2 separate regions of the Homo sapiens genome follow, and region 2 is linked to region 1. The links are contacts of gene promoters, found by promoter capture Hi-C in blood cells and fetal thymus (Javierre and others, 2016). All regions are on one chromosome and are shown on one strand. The core of a region is centred on a gene start or on the middle of the fragment in contact, and the rest is flanking DNA. Distances in the headings are between cores, read along the strand shown. Region 1 holds the start of SDSL (serine dehydratase like). Region 2 overlaps RBM19 (RNA binding motif protein 19).

Region 1 (2,991 bases), core at 183-2,682:
GGGATTGTCAGGATGAACTCCCCCTACTCCATAATCCTTCCGCTTTCTTGTTTTTTTGGTGTTTGTTTTAGAGACAAGGTCTCACTCTGTTGCCTGGGCTGGAGTGCAGTGGCACGATCATGGCTCACTGTAACCTTGAAGTCCCGGGCTCAAGCAATCCTCCCACCTCAGCTTCCTGAGTAGCTGGAACTGTAGACATGCACCACTGTATCCGGCTGATATTTTAATTTTTATAGAGATGCAGTTTTGCTGAGTTGTCCAGGCTGGTCTTGAACTCCTGGCCTCAGGTAAATCTCTTGTCTCTGCCTCTCAAAACACTAGGATAACAGGTGTGAGCCACCTGTTGGCTCACAACAGATGAGTCATTAACTCACCATTGACTCCATTTTATAAACAGTGAACCTGAGGTCCAGAGAGATTAAGTAACTTATCCAAGTTCACACAGTTAGAAACAGCATAGCCAGAATTCACACCAGGCAGTGTCTTTGGCATCTGTGCTATTAACCGCGATGCTATACTTTCTCTAATATACTAGTGTTATCGTTACTATTATGAAAGCTGCATGCATTTAATATTTATTGCCAATTGTCCTTTGGAACCAAATGCTCCTGGCTCAGTTTCCAGGCTTCCCCAGCCCTCTTGGTTATACTGACTCACAAGAGGACAGCAGGCATCAGTTAAATGAAAAAGCCCCAAGTTGCCAACAGCCTTATCAACCCCAGACCCCATCAGGCACCTGAGGTCTGGGACTGAGCTGTCTTGGCCCAGGGACACACACCTCTTGTCCCGTATGGCAGCCACCAGGGCTGAAATGGGGGACCTGGGTCTCCCTGCTGTGGAATAACCCAGGGGAAAGCAGGGGGCTCAGGCTCAGGTCCCAGTCATGCCAACCTTGGCCAAGTCACTTTTGTCACTGGGCCTTACCTGTCACATCTATGAGTTGAGGTAAGGACCACCAGTGCTGTCCACCTCACTTGTCCCCAAAGCCTTTCCCCAGAGGCCACCTTGGTGGCACTCCACAGCCAAATCCCTGGTGCCAGGGCTGGGACACCTCGGGCTGGCCCCTTGGCTGGCAGAATGCCCAACCCTGCCCCTCTGGCAGGCAGAACCCACTCTCGCCCTTCAGGGTCCCCAGCACAACACTTTCTTCTGCAGGGCACCCTGAATTCAATCGACATTCCCAGGAGGGCCTAGAACACGCTCAGGCCCTCTCACTCCCACCTGCTCAGCTTGGACTTTGCCCAAAGCCTCCCAAACTCCTGCAGCCTCTCATCAGCCTCTCATTCACACACACACTGAGCCCCAGGGGCCCCAGCTGGCCCCAGACCCCTTACCTCCCTGCCCAACTATCCCAGACCAGCGTGGCCCCAGCTCCTGCCCTCCAGCCTGCCAGGGAACCAGCTCTTTCCAGGAACCGGCTCTGTCCAGCTTCAGGCAGCTTCCGGCAACCTTGGTCCCTCCTCCTTTGTTAAAGAGAAAGCTCCAGACCCTAAGCCTCCGGGTGAAGACGGAGGAGGAGAGGGGATGAGAGCAACCCTCACCGCTTTCCCGGGCACTGCCTATGACTCATGCACCACCCTGTCTCATTTGACAGATGAGCAAACTGAAACTCAGAAAAGGGAACTTATTTGGCCAAAGCTTCCCAGACAGCAAGGGGCAGAGACAGCCTTTACCCCTGGCCCTGGGCCATCTCTTCCGGGATGCAGGCATCTCCATGTCTTCTCATTTTAGGTCTAGTGATTGTCCCGGATGCTGAACCACTGTTGGGGTCAGCTTAGGTCTGGGATGGGAAAACAAGGACAAGGGAACTTTTTTTTTTTGAGACACAGTTTCATTCTTGTCCCCCAGGCTGGAGTGCAATGGTGCGATCTCGGCTCACTGTTACCTCCGCCTCCTGGATTCAAGCGATTCTCCCACTTCAGCCTCCCAAGTAGCCAGGTTTACAGGCACCCACCACCACGCCAGCTAATTTTTGTATTTTTAGTAGGGACAGGGTTTGACCATGTTGGCCAGGCCAGTCTCGAACTCCTGTCCTCAGGTGATCTGCTTGCCTCTGCCTCCCAAAGTGCTGGGATTACAGGCGTGAGCCACTGCACCTGGCCAAGGAAACAATTATTATAATTATTATTTGTGACATGGGAAAGGTATATTTTTGTCTGAAGCACCTCTCCGTCTCGGATATTTTACACGCAGCATGAGAACCCAAGCAATTATTTGCTACTCAGATGAATGACTGACCATTCATTCATTCATTAAATGTTTATTGGACACCTACTATGTGCCAATCCCTGGAACTTTGGCCTCAAACAAAATAGCATGTCCTCTGCCTTCACAAAGCCCTTAGAGAGGGCCATTAGAGAGCACTTATTAGTGCTATCAGATGTTAGCAGCTGGCAGGGTGGGGCAGGGCTGTGGAACCCAGAGCAGGCACCCCGCCTGGCCCTGGGGGGCTGGGGAGGCTTCCTGGAGGAGGGGAAGTCTGAGTGGAGCCAGGAGTCAGGCACAGGGAGTGCAAAGGTCTGGAAATGAAAAACATGATATATTCCAGGGTCAGGGTAGTATCCAGTGGGGCTGGGAGGGAGAAGGCAGGGGTGGGGAAGCAAGTGGGGTTGAGGCTGGAGATGTGGGCAGAGATCAGAGTCCACAGGGATGCCTGTACCAATCCAGAGTTTGGACCTTACCCAGGGGCACTAGGGAGCCACAGAAGGCTTTAGGTGGGGGGAATGACATGGTCAAATTCATGTCTTGTCTCTGCACCATCTCACTGGGTGAACCTGAGCAGCTCGTGCCCATCTCTGGGCCTCAGTTTCCCTATGTGGAAAGTGGGAACAGGAAGACCTGGCATCACAGATGTTGTGTGTCCTTCTTGGGCTGTTTCTGATCTCCCCAGGTTTGATGATTAACTCCCAGCCACTTGGGGTTAGATGGAGCTGCTTGGCCGTGATCCTTAATGTGGACTCTGGCAAGTTTCTACCCATCCTCGCTTTAGAC
Region 2 (2,991 bases), core at 299-2,798, 530 kb before region 1:
GTCCTGGAGCCAGGCGTTTGCCATCGTCTAAGGGAGGATCAGTGGTGATGGGGCCTAGGGTGTGGCCATGGAGAGGGGGAGGGAAAAGGACGGAAGATGTTTATGGGGATGGATGAGGTGCCTGGATATAGGAAAGGAGGGCATGGAGGAGTCACAGAAAGAATCTAAACAGCCTTGTGATTAAAGGCAGAAAACCCAAGGGCTTTGGACCAAGTATTAGACATTGCCAGCTATTAGCCGAGTGCCCCTCGGAGTATTTCTTTAATGCTCCAGAAAAGCAGGGGAATGGTCCTCACCCCTCACCTTGTTGCCTCACAGGTTTGAGGCCCAAAGAGGTCAGGAAGCAGAGCCTCTCATGCTAGAGGAAAGACTCCCCCATTTGCTTGTTTTTTTGTGCAAGTCAAGGCCTCAGGTGCCCAGGAGCAGAGTGGGTGTGGAGAAGGTGCTTCCAGCGCCTAGGTGGGTCCTCATGCTGTAGCCACAGGCCCTTCTCCAGAGAATGGCTTAGAGCAGGTGCCAGTCGGGGGATGGGGGTGAGGCTTGGAGGGAGACAGAAAGGCCTCCTGGGCTTCCAACTCCTGGCATTCAGCATCTTCATCCATGACACCGGGCTGGGGTCTGTACACTCCCTGCAGAGGGAAATTTGGCTGTGGGTGGGAGACAGAGAGAGGGAGACCCTTTGTATTTTGGAGATCTGACCAAGGTAGAGGTTTCTCCCTCACTTTCTGCTCCTAGCACAGTATGGGTGTTCCTCTGGGGACCACCACAAGTGTCTGCAAGGCCTGCAGATTTTACCTCTGTCATTGTCCTCTGTCAGGATACATCTTTGTGGATTTCAGCAATGAAGAGGAAGTGAAGCAAGCTCTGAAATGCAACCGGGAGTACATGGGTAAGGAAGCCCTGGCCATGTGCTCTCTCTGTGTTACAGCGTTCCTTCGTTCCTTCATTTCCTTTACACGTTCTTGTACCAGCACCATCACCACCACCAAGAATGCAGTGTCTCTGCAGACACTGTTCTAGGCACTGGGGACATGGCAGGGAGCAAACAGACCCAAATCCCTGCCCTTTCGGGGCTGACAGAGAGTAAACTGACTTAGGAGGGAGAGACAGGTGGTTAAATGTGTGATCCATGCTACAGGGAAACACACAGCAGGCACGGGTCCTGGGGAGGGCAGGGATTGGAGGAGGCTTGGCTTTAAACAGGGTCCTGTCTGCTTTGGCCTCACCGAGGGGTGACATTGGGACACAAACCTACAGTTGTGTAGGCTCTGGCTCTACGGACAGGATGTTCAGTAGAGGGAACAGCACGTGCAAATTCCCTGGAGTTGGGAGGTCTTCTGAACAATACCCAGGGATGTATTCTTTGACCAATCCCTGGCCAAGACAAGTGATTTGAATCCAGCCATCAACCCCAGTGAAGACATGAGTTGTGTTAGAGAAGGATGGAGAGCCTTGGGAATCTTGTTAGCAAGTCAGGAGGTGGGTATTTATTGAGCACCTAGTAGTGCCTGTGCAGGATACAGTGATAATAGCACCCTAATCAGGCACAGGGGCTATGCGTGCAAATAAATCATCAGCAGGTAAGTACCCAGGGCTGGGCTGTCACCTAAGACCCTTCCCAAGGCAGAACAGCAAGCAGTGCCAGAGAATACAGCCCGGAGTTTAGAGAATGCATCACCGTGGTCTGGGATAACTCAGGCAGGCTCCCTCCAGGGCTGAAGCTGAACTGGCAGGGTGAGTGAGATTTGGGTTCAGGCCTGGTGTTGGCTTGGCTTATGCTGCCGCCTCAGGTGACAGGGCAGGTGTTGGGTGCTGTCATCTGCCACCTTGATTGTGTTTTTTGGAAGGCAGCAGAGAAGAGTTTGGAGTCACCAGCAAGGAGTTGCTGGCAAGTTCTAGGCCTCCCCCTGGAGCCCTGACTCCTCTTCATTGCAGGTGGGCGCTACATCGAGGTGTTCAGGGAAAAGAACGTCCCCACCACCAAGGGTGCACCAAAGAATACCACCAAATCCTGGCAAGGCCGGATACTCGGGGAGAACGAAGAGGAGGAGGACCTGGCCGAATCCGGAAGGCTCTTTGTACGGAACCTGCCCTACACCAGCACCGAGGAGGATCTGGAGAAGCTCTTCTCCAAATATGGTAGGGGTGTGGCCTCCGGGCCGTGGATAGCCCAGCGGCTATGGGAGCCGGGCTCTCACTCTGACGTCCTGGGTTCAAGTCCCAGTGTGCACACGACTCCACATCTCTTGCCTCAGTTTTCTCATCTGTAAAATGGGACCAAGTACCCCTGAGCTGCTGTGAGGATTCAGTGACATGATGAATGCAGGGATTCGCAGGGCAGGAAGTAAAAGGTATTAATAGCATCACTGGCATCCTTTGCTGTCTGAACTCTCTAACTTCTCCAAATTCAGAATTGAAGCAATTCGGATGACTTTTTTGAGATACTCCCTTGCTGTCCAAAGTCATGCCACTCGGTATTGGAATTGAGTAACTGTACAGGTTTCACCTGATGAATATACCTACACGGCGTTCCTCCGTATCTGAACTCTTAATTATGTAAAGTCTTCTTATCCAAGCTGAGCACCAAATAGATTTGATAGTGTCAAGGTTAGTGTTGTTGTTGCTGTTATTTCTCAGGCCATGGGCTTGAGGGCCTGTAGTCCAGCTTGGTCACAACAGGCTGTGTTTGTTTGTGGAGTTACCATTGTTGAAGGGCAGGAAGGGAGGGTTCAGGATGAGGGGAGGTCTTGATACCTTTGAGATCCCCGCAGTGTCTCCCCATGTCTATTCAGAGGCCAGCTGTAGGTTGTGGAGGATTGGAGATGTAGGTTGAACACCTGATGTGGGCCCCGTTGTCAGGGTAAGGATGCCCTGAGTGGAGCATGCCATCAGGAAAATTGACCTGACCTCCAAGCCTGGGGCCTGCCCCAGTGGAACTGTGTGTTCCATTCACCAGTCTGCTCACCATATCCTTCACACAGGCTGGCATCC

What was found. The method cuts DNA at HindIII sites, captures the fragments that hold promoters and counts their contacts. A CHiCAGO score of 5 or more calls a contact.
Region 2: a fragment that was not itself captured here is called in contact with the fragment with the promoter of SDSL in region 1 in 2 of 17 cell types (M0 macrophages and M2 macrophages); the score reaches 6.3 in M0 macrophages.

Annotation. Positions count from the first base shown.
Region 1 is chr12:113,420,821-113,423,811 of GRCh38, reverse strand. SDSL (serine dehydratase like) reads right to left here and starts at 1,432. Exons shown (of 8, transcript NM_001304993.2): 1 at 1,335-1,432. The HindIII fragment of the contact is 13,599 bases long and covers 1-1,640 here.
Region 2 is chr12:113,947,981-113,950,971 of GRCh38, reverse strand. RBM19 (RNA binding motif protein 19) reads left to right here. Exons shown (of 24, transcript NM_016196.4): 9 at 818-889; 10 at 1,936-2,139. It also overlaps the pseudogene TRE-CTC16-1. Among named protein-coding and RNA genes, the nearest start is that of RBM19, 17 kb to the left of the region's middle. The HindIII fragment of the contact is 3,542 bases long and covers 1-2,991 here.